Regions from separate parts of the Homo sapiens genome. Here regions 1, 3 and 4 are each linked to region 2. The links are contacts of gene promoters, found by promoter capture Hi-C in blood cells and fetal thymus (Javierre and others, 2016). All regions are on one chromosome and are shown on one strand. The core of a region is centred on a gene start or on the middle of the fragment in contact, and the rest is flanking DNA. Distances in the headings are between cores, read along the strand shown. Region 1 holds the start of AIM2 (absent in melanoma 2). Region 2 holds the start of KIRREL1 (kirre like nephrin family adhesion molecule 1). Region 3 holds the start of LOC124904432 (a long non-coding RNA gene). Region 4 has its middle 19 kb from the start of AIM2.

The links. Contacts are between HindIII fragments. The CHiCAGO score rates a contact against its expected background, and 5 or more counts as called.
Region 1: a contact is called between a fragment that was not itself captured here and the fragment with the promoter of KIRREL1 in region 2, in 7 of 17 cell types (fetal thymus, naive CD4 T cells, endothelial precursors and 4 more). The highest score is 18.0, in fetal thymus.
Region 3: a fragment that was not itself captured here is called in contact with the fragment with the promoter of KIRREL1 in region 2 in 1 of 17 cell types (fetal thymus); the score reaches 7.5 in fetal thymus.
Region 4: a contact is called between a fragment that was not itself captured here and the fragment with the promoter of KIRREL1 in region 2, in 1 of 17 cell types (activated CD4 T cells). The highest score is 5.3, in activated CD4 T cells.

What each region holds. Positions count from the first base shown.
Region 1 is chr1:159,073,946-159,077,350 of GRCh38, reverse strand. AIM2 (absent in melanoma 2) reads left to right here and starts at 585. Exons shown (of 6, transcript NM_004833.3): 1 at 585-718. RefSeq lists an enhancer at 1-143. The HindIII fragment of the contact is 734 bases long and covers 1,466-2,199 here.
Region 2 is chr1:157,991,927-157,994,933 of GRCh38, reverse strand. KIRREL1 (kirre like nephrin family adhesion molecule 1) reads right to left here and starts at 1,289. Exons shown (of 15, transcript NM_018240.7): 1 at 1,206-1,289. The coding sequence starts at 1,257. The HindIII fragment of the contact is 5,747 bases long and covers 1-3,007 here.
Region 3 is chr1:159,012,842-159,016,088 of GRCh38, reverse strand. It overlaps IFI16 (interferon gamma inducible protein 16), which reads right to left. Exons shown (of 12, transcript NM_001376587.1): 2 at 1,144-1,428; 3 at 102-217. The coding sequence starts at 1,408. LOC124904432 (a long non-coding RNA gene) reads left to right here and starts at 2,039. Exons shown (of 2, transcript XR_007066671.1): 1 at 2,039-2,522; 2 at 2,609-3,247. RefSeq lists an enhancer at 1-1,072. The HindIII fragment of the contact is 2,831 bases long and covers 99-2,929 here.
Region 4 is chr1:159,094,474-159,097,557 of GRCh38, reverse strand. It overlaps a transcript of AIM2 not described here. Among named protein-coding and RNA genes, the nearest start is that of AIM2, 19 kb to the right of the region's middle. The HindIII fragment of the contact is 6,509 bases long and covers 1-3,084 here.

The sequences.
Region 1 (3,405 bases), core at 583-3,082, 1.1 Mb before region 2:
AAAGGGTGGCACCCCGATTCCGGGAATTGCCCGCCCATTTCCCAGAAAACCCCTCCCCTTGATTACAGAGTACTCCATACCTTCATTGTGCTTATTCATATAGTACGTGAACCACATTGCCTGTGACTCAAATCTTTGAGTGCCTGCACTCCTCCCTTGAGGGTGTCGTTGGTTTTGCTCCACAATAAAATGTCTATACTTTCGCTTGGGTCTCATTTTCAGATTCTCTTATGCTTTGAAGACAAGAACCTGCACTGCCCTACTGGCAACACTTTTAGATACCCTCTGAGATCAGTGTGCTTGTTTATACCAGAAAAATGTCATCACCAGGCCCCTTAGTCACAAAGTGTATCAAGAAGTCATCTGCGGTCATTTTTTACAGTTTCTAGGCCACTTTCTGTTTCCAATCAGTGTAGTTCCTATGTGGCATGACTCAGATACAAGTTTCTATAGACATTTTCTTCTGTGGCTGCTAGTGAGAACCCAAACCAGCTCAGCCAATTAGAGCTCCAGTTGTCACTCCTACCCACACTGGGCCTGGGGGTGAAGGGAAGTGTTTATTAGGGGTACATGTGAAGCCGTCCAGAAGTGTCAGAGTCTTTGTAGCTTTGAAAGTCACCTAGGTTATTTGGGCATGCTCTCCTGAGTCCTCTGCTAGTTAAGCTCTCTGAAAAGAAGGTGGCAGACCCGGTTTGCTGATCGCCCCAGGGATCAGGAGGTAAGCACCATAGAGGAGCTGGGTTAGAGACGAGAGACTTAACCGTTTCTCTGCTGAAAAAGACAACTGAGGAAAGGCCAGCCATGCTGTGCACACCTCTGAGAACCTGAACCTGCAAACATGGACATCAGCTCTGAAAGGATGGGTTCATTTCTCTTTTATTCACTTTAGCCATGTCCTCTGGTGTCTCTGAGCTGGTGTTCCTTAAGCTTCGGCTTCCTTTGGGGTTTGTCTATCAGCCTATTTGTAAGGCTGACTTTTATGCCAATAGCAAATACAAGCATTTTTTAAGTTAACAGATATTATGAAGTAAAATGCAAGTTTTTCATTTATAAGGCAACATAACTTCAGAGAAAAAACTGAGTCAATCACATAAAATGTGATTAAAATGTGATTGTTATTATATAAGAGGGTTATAGGAAGATTAGCTTCTTATGGACAAGTAGAAAAGTAGGAATCATCCAAGCTGATTGTCACAGTAGATATTCAACAAAGGTAGTGTCCTTCCTTGCTTTCATCAGTAGGATGGGGGCATTTGGATGGCTTTATCATTGCAAATATTTTTAATGTATTCCTTATTTTGAAAATGGTCCTGATAATAGTTTTAATTTTCACTCATGAACTCTACATGTATAAGTAGAGTTTCTCCAGCGCTTACCAACATATAGGAAAAAACATTATAAGGCCATTAACAGTGATAGTTTAGAATTTATTAACATTGACTCTACTGATGGGGGTATTCAAGCTTCCCTAAAATTCACAATCAGTTATTTTCAGCTCATAAACATCTTTTCCTGTTCTTTGGCTTATTTCTTCCACTTTATATGTTGCTGCTCTGGAAGTCATTAATTGCTAATAATGTCAAACATCTTTTTTATGTTTATTGGATATTTGAGCAAATTGCTCATTCACATCTTTTGCACACTTTTCAAATAGACTGTTGTTTTCTTATTGATACATGGTTCTCCATGTATTCCAAAAGCAAAACCTCTATTAGCTCTCTCTCTCTCTCTCTCTCTCTATATATATATATATAGCAGGTATAGCCATATATATATGTGTGTGTGTGTGTGTGTGTGTGTGTGTGTGTGTGTGTGTATTGCAGGTATCTGCCCAGTTTTTGCCTTGTATAATCACTTTGTTTAGTGTGTGTGTGTGCACGGATGTGTGTGTTTCCTACAAAGAAATTGAGAATATGCATGCAATCACATTTGACAAATTTTTTTTTTCTGGCTTGTCCTTTTTGTGCCTTATTTAAGGAACCTCCTTCTACTTCAATGTATTGAGAAATTCTGTGTTTTATTCAACATCATTACTATTCTATTTAGATAATTAATCCAACCAGATATATATTTTGTGTATGATATAAGAGAAAGGCTGAATATATCATTCCCTGTGTATTGTCATTTGTCTGAACACTTTTTATAGTTGGCCATTCTTTCCTTGTGATTTTTAATGCCACTTTGATTATATACCAAGCTTTAATTTACATGTGGTCCTGTTTCCACACTCTATTTATTAGTTCATTTTTTTCTACGCCACTGCCATACTGATTTAATAATTATACATTTGTAGTAAGTATTGATACCTAGTAGTAGGGATAGTACATCCTGATAAACATATTCAACTTGTTTTGCAGGTTTTTGTCTTTATTTTTTTCATTTAGGTTTTAGGATCATTCTGATAAATTCTATGAAAAACCCTTTGAGATTTTGGATAGGAGTTTATAGATTAATTTGACAACACTGCTGTCTTCATTTTATCAAATCTTCCCATTTAAAATATCAGACATACACCCACTTAAGTAGGTCCTTTAAATCTCCCAATAAAGTTTTATAAGTTTCCCTTTAAAACTCTTAAATATATTGTATTCGATGTTCTTATGTACTTTGTAGTTTTGTTGCTATTGGAAATTACTTTTTTTATGTAATTTTTTTCTCTCTTGGAGTGGTACTAAAATAAAGGAATGCATTTCTGTATATTAATCTTATAGTTATAAACTGTTGAATTATTATTTATAATGTTTTGTGTATTATTTTGGATACTATACATAAACAACTATATTACTACAACGTGATTTTGGCAACAAGTTACAAAAATAGGTTGATGGACAGAATAAAGAATCCAGAAATAGACTCACTCATATTTGGACAACTGATTTTTGCAAAGGTAAAAAAAAAAATCATTAAAAATGACAGTCTTTTTAACATATGATTCTGGGAAAATTCATATTCATATGAAAAATAAATGAACTTTGAATCATCACTTATATCATATACAAATTAACTCAAAGCAGTACATACAGCCAAATGTGAAATGATCAAACCGTAAAATTCTTACAGGAAGACATAAAATCTTCTAATCTTGAGATTGGAAAAGATTTCTTAAATAAGACACTGAAAGCATGATCCATGAAAGAACAGATTGATTAATTGCACTTCATCAGGTATATGTATATGCCAAAATTTATCAGATTGTATACTTCCAGTGTATGCACCGTGTTGTATGCCAGTTATGCCTCGATAAATCTATTTTAAAAATAACAGGAAAATGTATCCTGTTTCCTTTTTGTTGTTGTTGTTGTTGTTGTTTTGAGATGAAGTTTCGCTCCTGTTGCCCAGGCTGGAGTGCAATGGCGCGATCTTGGCTCACTGCAACCTCCACCTCCCAGGTTCAAATAATTCTCC
Region 2 (3,007 bases), core at 40-2,539:
CATGTACTGTGTATAGTTGTAACGTTCGGGTGGATGAATGCGTGAGTGTGTGCCGATCTGGGGGAGGAATCTGTCTTCCTCAGATGTCTCCGTGTCTTTGTGTATATGTGTCTGTCTCAGTGTGGGGGATGTTTGTGGGGATGTCTCTCTCTCAGTAGGTGAGTAGTCTGTCTCAGTGTCTGTGAGTGTTTTACGGTGTTTGTGTGTCAATTTCTGTGTGTCAGCTCCATTTTTGGGGAGGGAAGGAGTTCAGCAGGATTCAGTCTTCCTTAGAGTCAGACCTGGGAGGCAAGAACCAACTCCCACAGACCCCAGTCCCTGCTGCAGTCTGGACCCTTGGTTCCCTCAGCCCTCTTCCCTCCCCCAACCCCAGCCCTGCCCAGGATACACTGACATCCTCATCTCTCCCAACCACCTCCCTCACCTCCCAGCCTCTCCCCTGCCAGTGTCAAATAAGCCCCAGACAGCAACACTTTCCTGAGCCCAAGTAGAGTGTCAGCCCCCTCCCCCCACCGCCTCTGCCCCCGCCCCCGTGAGTTCCCCCCCTCTGTATCAAGCGGGCCTGAAGCTGTATGTGGAACTCCACTCTCCACCCAGAGCCTCCGTGGGCAGGGGTTCCAAATCCCCACTAGAGGCGCCGAGACACCCCTCCCTTCCTCTAGAGGGGGCAGCCCCAGGCAGGCTGGAGCCGTGATTCAGACTCAGACCCCCGAGGGGCTGGGCTGGAGTAGGGGGATCCCCTTGGCAACATCTTCGGGAGGTGGGACCCAGCTTTTCGCTCACCCCCTCGCCCGAAATCCGAAATCCCACCCTCTTCCCAGCCTTGCCCTTAGGCTGGACTCAGGCGTCCGGAACCCCGGCCTCAGAGGGCGAGGGTCGGTAGGGCTGCCAGAAGCTCAAGAGAAAGCGTTCGGTTCCCCGTTTTACTCGGACCTCCAGCCCTCGCGGCCCCATTGCTCGGTTCTCCCGCGCAGCCAGAGGAAACAACTTGGGCAAATCAACGGCAAACTCATTCTCCCCAGCCCCTCGTTACTCCGCGCCCCCTCCCCCAGGGCTCTGCGCCCGGACCGAGCCCCCGCCTCGTGGCGTCCGGACCCGGGGACTGGCCGCGGGCCGCGGGGCACTCCAGCACTCTCCCACCGGGGAAGCAGTGCCCCGGCCCCGGGGGGAAGCCGAGCGTCCGGGGGTGGGCTGGGGGCCCTTACCTTGGGAGAAAGTATCGGAGAGAGTGAGGATCCAGACGAGGAGGCTCAGCATGCTGTCCGCCCGCCGTGCGCCCGCCCGCGGCTGGGGCCCGGAGTTGGCGAGCGAGCCAGAGGAGCGGGCTGGGGAGGAGGGGAGCCCGGGAGCCCGGGAGCCCGCCCCCCGCCCGCCCGCGCCCGCCCCTGCACACACACACGCGCGCGCGCACACTCACGCGCACAAACTCATTTCCCTGCCCTCCGATTCTCTTTATCTCTCTTTCCTCCCAGACCTTTTTCTCCTCCTGGTCGCCCTCCCCCTTTAATTATTTCTCCTCTCAAGCTGTATCTCTCTGGGTCTCTTTCGGTCTTTGCTCCCCCTTTCTCTCCCCTTCTCTTCCTTCCCTCTCTCCCTCCCTGCCTCCCTGCCTGCCTGCCTCCCTCCCTCCGCCTGACGTCTACTCTCCCTCCGACGGCGCCTCCCTCCACGAGCCCTCCCCCTGCCCCCCCACAACGCGCGCACACACATACCCCCCTCGCTGGAACTGAGATGGAAGGAGAGCAAAGAGGGAAAGGAATTGAGGGCAAAGGCAAAAGGGGGTGAAAAATGTGACCGTCGTGGGTTCTGGGGCAGGCACGACGGGACCCCTGGCCACCCCACCCCCTCCTATTTATAGACGCAATCTTGGTCGCGGGCTATGGAACTAAGCAGTGGAGGAGGAACATGGGCTGAGGGACATCAGCCTCTAGCTCAGAGGATGTGATGGGGAGTGTGTGTGTGTGTGTGTGTGTGTGTGTGTTTCCGTGTGTGTGTCTAGGAGTGGGGTGGGGGGCAGGGAGTTAAATAAACATAAAGACCTTTCTTTTTAAATTCCACACCCAAAGTCTAGCCCCTAGATTCCCCAAATTAAGAATTCTCAATTGACTAATGAATGCTTGGATAAGGGAGGGGCATACATGCCTCTCCCCACCTATAAAACCCAGAACTGGAGAATGGGAGCTGCCTCTTGGACCTGCCTTGAGGCCCTGCCTTGGCTTCACCCAGTCAAGGTTGAGCACAGCTAGGCGTTGGAGGACTCAGCGGCCTGGAAGAGGCACAGTTGACCCTTCCTTTGTTCATCTTAGCCTTCCACCCATCCCGAAGGAGAAGGTAGCCAACTGGATGGCTTTGAAGGGCCAAGACCTGGCCTCACCTCCCTGAATGCAAGCCAGAGGAGAAGACAGCCACCAGTCAGATCTCTAAGCACGCTGGAGTTTGAGATCTTTTGGGGTAGGGACATGGAGGAACTAGGAAGGAAGGGAATTCCTGAGAATCATGAGAGCATTCAGGAGGGATCTCCACTTTCTTAAGGGCCCAGTTTGGCAACCAGCTCCTCTTCTCACCCCTGACCAGATACTTCTGCTCACAGGATTGCTCGGGTAGCCAGAGGTCTGGACCCTAGGGAATGGACAGAGAAGTTGCTGGAATTGCACAATTTTACAGTAATGTGTTGGTCCAAAGAGGTCTCCACTTCTTTCCTCCCAGATCCCAGATCTCCTGGGTCTCTAACACTCCCCGCCAAGTTTTCTCAATTTCTGCCCCTGAAAGTAGGTGCGTGGCTCTCTGGTGCCCTCTGTTGATGTGTAGCGGCCACAGCTCCTCTTTCCTCCGCAGATACTAACACCAGCCTGTGGTCCAGACGCATCCACACACAATTAGAAGACAGAGAAAGGCAGGAAAACACCCAAGCTCATATGCAGAAGCCCCATATGCACAGACCCAGAGAATTCTTCATATATTCCAAAACACAGGCAAGCACAGCTTAAGAATAGAGCCATACTTTGGC
Region 3 (3,247 bases), core at 265-2,764, 1.0 Mb before region 2:
AAACATGAAGAAATAACTGCCTGCTGGAGAGATTGAGTGGAAGAGCCGTAGCAGAGCTTCCTCTGTGGGACTTGAAGCCTGCTCCTCTTCCTGAAGCTTACCTGAGCTCCAGGAGTTGCCTCTGCTCCTTCAGTTTTGACAGTGCTGCTTGTGGAGGGTGCAGGTGAAGTAGCATCCACTTCCTTCTTCCTCTTTCTTGATAGGGCTGGTCCTTTTACTGGAATAGATTCAATTTTATTCCCAACCAATGCAGAAAAAAGGAAGACATATAAACGATCTCCGACAGCTGAAGCAGTTTCAATACAATTTGCTCTCAGTTCCTGCTTGAGGGTTCAGCTGTGCTTTAGTCTAGCTCTACTGCATTAGCCCAGCCTGGCCTTAAGGAGACCAGCAGTCACAAGACAGGAACAAGCACTGACTCATGCTCCTCAGCACTTTCCTCACTCCTCCCCTGTGCACTGAGCACATGCTTCCTGTTCTCTGAACTCCATGTGCTTCAGTTAACCCTTTCCCAATGCGGTTCTCCGATCATTTTGTTTTAAAAACTAATGTTTTCATGATGGAGACTGCTAGGTCACATTCCCCAGGTAAAGATATTCAAATTATAGAAACCAGCCAAAGGTTTCCATGAGGAAGGATATACTGATTTTGGACTTAGACTTTTTCAAATCCTTTTTTTTAACTTGATATAACAAGAGAGGAGATCACACTTCTGAGAGGCAGGCTCACATGTAAGTATTGCATTTTTTTAAATTATAAAGGGTAGTGATGGGTTAAATGGTCTCAATAGAACAGATACATTCATTGGCTAAATGTACATATCTTGAATTTAAACAGTTTTTATGATTTTATTATTATATAATCTTTCTAATGTACTGGAAGTCTCAGTCCCCCTTCAACTCCCTCTCACTTTTGTTCTTTCACTGATCCCAAATATACATTCTGAAATACTTCAATCTACACCAGTAATGGAATGCACTAAGTTGTCAACTTGTTGGCCTCTGAAGTACCAACATTGTCTCAGCTGTTGAGTCACAAACTGGGGAAAACACATCTCAAGTATGTCCGAGGTGGGGCTCTAATCAATGTTGGGGAGGGTTTGGGGATGGTTGCAGGGAGTGGGTGTTCCCTCTTCCCAATTACCTTTTAACTTTTCTTTTTTAAGAGTTTCAGCCAGGTCTTCAAGCGTTGGTATATCTTCGAAAATTTTTATTAGTTTGCCCAAACCAGCATCACCTCGGAACTTTTCTTCCATCAAGTCAGCAATCTGAATTTTGTCATACTCTTCTCTCATTTTTAAATTAAGTTTTAAATCGTTGCTCAGTAAGGACTTAACCATTCTAAAATGATAATCATTGATGACCTCTAATCCTTTTAGTAGAACAATGTTCTTGTATTTTTTTCCCATCTTTACAGACATAAGTGAGCCTACAAGAGAAAATGGTATATACAGTGTTACACATGTATACAGACAATTTAAAAGATGTATGCCTATGTGAGTGAGTGGCCCATATGAAAGAGTTGTTCATGAATATGTGTGATAAAGAAGGACTCAACGACCAAATGTGTTACTGTAGAAATTGAGTGAAGAACTGCTGGGTTAGGAATGTCTAAGAAATTATTCCCATTGAATGAGAATAGTTGAGTTGGGTCCAGTTGTTAGAGGGAGGTCTGAGAACAAGCAATTGCCTCAGTGTTAAGAGTATGAGCTCTGCAGTGTCAAAGCCCTTGGTTCCTCTTCTTATCCTTTACTGGGGCTGAAGCCTATTCCCCAAATCCTGCCTGTTGTTTCTTAAATCTTCCCACACCCAGTATGACTGGAGCGGCCTAGGTGTAAATGGGCTGCAGCCTCCCACCTTATATGAATAACTTTCTGCTACAGCGCTACAGTTTCATGCTGTGGCACTGACCCTATTCTCCTTGACTCTTCCCTAGTTGGCTTTCATTAGCATCCTCCCTTCTTTGGTGCTAGACCATGGCTTCTGTTCTCTGTACCCATAAAACCATAACTTTGCTGAAAATCTGCATGCTTTCTAGTGCAGCATCACAGTATTTATTCACTGAAATGATTTTATTGGTTGTTTTATTTTTCTTCTTTCAGACTTGATTTGTCTAATTATTTCTTTTCGCACAATCAGTTTTCTCTCGATAAGCCACATTTATATTCCACTGAAATCCTTCAATATTTCTCCTTTTTCTTCCCCAAAATTCCTTGCTTCCTATACTGTCTCAGAAAGTGTTGAATAAGCTGCATCTTTTTTACTTCTAGTACCTTTGTACTCCTTGTATCTATGCTTCACAAAGATGCCGGACACCTTGTGTCTTCATGCCTCATGACTTTGCTAGTTCCTTCTTACTGCCTGGAAAGCCATTCCCACATTTCTTTCTTTGACTACTTCCCATACAACCTTAAGACTCAACTGAGGCTTTGTCTCATGGTAGATTTCAGAGTCTCCCTATGGACAGAGTGTCACTGCTCTTGACCTCTTAACACCTGTACACTTCCATGATGACAGTGCAAGGTATGGATTCCAAAACTTTTAAATTAATGAATTTTTTAATTTTAGGAATGATGTCTTTGTGTATAACCAAGATATCTAAATTTCAGGGGCTATTAATTGGGCCAGGCGCAGTGGCTCACGCCTGTAATTCCAGCATGTTGGGAGGCCGAGGTGGTCGAATCACAAGTTCCGGAGATCAAAAGCATCCTGGCTAACACAGTGAGACCTCGTTTCCACTAAAAATACCAAAAATTAGCCAGGTGTGGTGGCAAGCGCTTGCAGTCCCAGCTACTCGGGAGGCTGAGGCAGGAGAATTGCTTGAACCCAGGAGACGGAGGTTGCAGTGAGCGGAGATCGTGCCACTACACTCCAGCCTGGGTGACAGAGTGAGACTCCGTCAAAAAAAAAAAAAAAAAAAAAAAAAAGCTTCCTTCTTACGAGAACATGAGGATCCTTGGACTGAAAAGGTCCAGAGAATGAAGGGAAAATCTATACAAAAACACATTATAGTGAAACTGAAGAATATAATGAACAAAAATACTCTGTAAGCCTTCGGTAATGAGGAATAGATCACCTACAAAGATTCAAGAATCAAATTGAAAGTGAATCTCTATATCAAAACTGCCTGAAGCAGGACAATGGAGTTATTTTTATATAATGTTGGTCCAAAGTTCCATATCAATTGCAAAACCAAAAAAAATTTTCAATGGAAAGTTTTGACTTATTTTGTGAGTGTGCTAGAAACA
Region 4 (3,084 bases), core at 575-3,074, 1.1 Mb before region 2:
ATTGCCTACTGTATAATTACTTGTACTATCTTGTACTATCTCTCTGTTCTTAGCATAATTCTGCTCTTCATTATGGCTGTGAAATTGTGTGTGTCCACATTTGGTGAAAGTTTCCTAAAGATAATATTTTGGGTTGCAGGCTGGGAGGTGAGGGGACTGGAAGGAATAAAGAGTGGGAGGATGTAGCTATGGCCCAGGGGACAATAATTCACCTTGGAGTTAGAAGCCTCTGCTTCTAATTCCTTCTAATTTATTCTGTTATGAAATTTGGGGAGATATTTCCTAATTTTATTGTTAAAATGACATAAAATATGTATGTGAAAGGGCTTCATCCTGAGCAGGGGCTGAGAATCTGATGTATTGGCACAGTGGCTAGTAAGGAATGTCAGGTCTCAGAGACTACACAGTTACAAGACTTAGCGGTTTGCCTGAGACTGGGGCAGAATTCAGACTTTTCTGTCTCCTGCAGCTCAAGAATTCATGCCCTTGTAGGGGTGAAAGAGAGGTAGGGATCTGCCTACTTCCCGACTTTATTTTCTTTTTTACAATCCCAGATTTTCTGTGCCTTGGAGCTGCCTAAATCTCAGAGCAACCTAATGAGTAGGAAATCACCTAGATCACAAGCAGGTGACAATATCGAAGGATGAAGGGAATACTTTTTGTTTGTTTTTGTCGCTAAAGGCCAGTTTAGTCTCTGTATACCCCCCATTCCCCCCATCATCCTTCACCCTCAGGGAATGAAAGTTACCTCTAAGTCTTGAAGCAGCCCATGTCATACCTGTGCTCTCCAGCCTGCTGGTACCTACAAATAGTTACAGGCATTCTTCTTCTGGTTGGTCCCAGCTCTGAGTCTACTGAGCCATGGTGTGTCTGCCTTGAGAGTGCCTTTTGCAATTCTGTCTATGATCATACCTCAGGAAAGAAATGGCAAGCCACAGAAATTATGAAAAGTTTAGAGAGGCAGTCTTACAAAGAAATAAATTTAAATTGTCTCTTAAAGCTGGAAAAGGAGCCCGTGGATATATAGAGCACCAAAATCCATAAAATTTTTAAAATGAAAATAAATAGCAATTTACTTATTAAATACTATATTATTATTCCCCTGGTATACATGACACATCCAACATTTATTAAGCTCAGACTATGAGCTATTCATTGTGCTAGGTGATTCACACATTATCCTGTTTCTTTTCACAACATTACTGCAAGATAGGCATTATATTTTTATTTTACAGACAAGAATCAGAGAGAGAGAGGCTAAGTAACCCTCCCAAGGCCAACTAGCTAGTGAATGAAGTAGGATTTGAAGATGCATTAAAAATGTTTTAAGTGTCTGCTTTTTCTACTACACAAAGTTGCCTGTCTTGAAGCACAAAGGAGAAGGCTGGGACAACTAATTAAAGAAGGATCTTTTCAGCCTACAGTAGCATTGTGTTTATGTTGAATCAGGAACCAGCACCCTTGTCTCTGGTAGTGGAGTCATCCCAAAGCCCAGATGTACTCTACCAAGACAGCTTATAATCTGGCTTGTGGTAACATGAGATTTTATGAAAATGGACCTTTATTATGTGATGTCTCAAATTTTATTGAGATTTAATATATGAGACCCTAGTCTAATTCCATACTCTTTGCAATTTCTTCTCAATTTGATCCCTCCTTTCACTATAATATCCCTGAAATGAAAAATGAACATCCATAGTCACCAGTATAAAGCATTGAATTGAAATTTTGAGGCTCTCCTTTTCAGTGGTCTTACCTTCTTAGGGAACTCTTGATAATATACAATGTATGATATTGCCAATTAAGAGACTAAAATGTTAAATACTTCTAACCACTACAGATTTCCAAGCATCCTTTATAATATTTTAAGAGTATTTTTTTTTCACTTCAAGACAAACGTGGTACCTTAAAATTCTTAATTTACATACATTTTCTATATCAGACAGAGTAAACTAGGTATCTTTCAGCAAAGGAGGAAGGTCCAGAAAAAAGTGCAGAACATAGCAGAGAGCATTCTTGAGCACGTAGCTGGGGAAACAGAGGTAACAGCTGTCACATAAGCAGAGGCCCTGTAGGCCCGGGTGGCAGATACAAGGTCTCAATGCTCTTACTTCACCTTTCTCTTCCTGAGCCCTCAGTACTGAGAATTCATGGCTCAAGTACATGCAACCACTACCAAATTGATTCGAGTTGACATTTGTAACAAAAACTATTCTCTATCATGCTTTATTTTTTTTTCTGCCTCGGGGAAATGGCTGAATCATTTCACAAATCCCTTAGGATACAGAGACAGAGAGAAGGGATAGATTTAAATGTTTTCTTCCTTTTGATTTAGACTGACTATAATGCTTGATGATAAAGCATGTACAACAAAAATAAACACTTTCCATAATTATATTAATTTACGGATAGCAATGAAAATGATCTGAAGGGATTTCTGCAGAAGAGTTAATACCTGTAGTGCTTCTCTCTCTGGATGATGGGATTATGAGTGTTGTTCTTTGTCTGCTTTTGTTTGGCTACATTTTCTGGATTTTTTTTCAGTAATGATTTAAATTGCCCGCTTTTGTAACAGAGACAAAAAGAAATGGGCTTAATAAAAGAAATAATAATTTTTTTGATATTCAGGGTTTTTTTTTACCTTTTTCGCATAAGCAGCCTAGACTAAGAATAATTGGCCCCAAATAAATTAGACATACAAAGCAAAAAGGTAAAATGACATTCTCAATTTTGGAAAGTTGATTTTTAAAATGTAAATTTCATAAATCATTGCAAAAAATTTGTATGGTATGTCAAGTTACCAATACTTAAAAAAATTCAGTGAGAACATTTGATTTGTTTTCTTTTCATTTTTTCTTCGGAGACAGAGTCTCGCTCTGTCGCCCAGGCTGGAGTGCAGTAATGCAATCTTGGCTCACTGCAACCTTTGCCTCCTAGTTTCAAGCGATTCTCCAGCTTCAGCCTCCCGAGTAGCAGGGATTACTGGTGCACGCCACCAAGCTCAGCTAAGTTTTTATATTTTTAGTAGAGACAAAGTTTCACCATGTTGGCCAGGCTGGTCTCGAACTCCTGACCTCAAGTGAT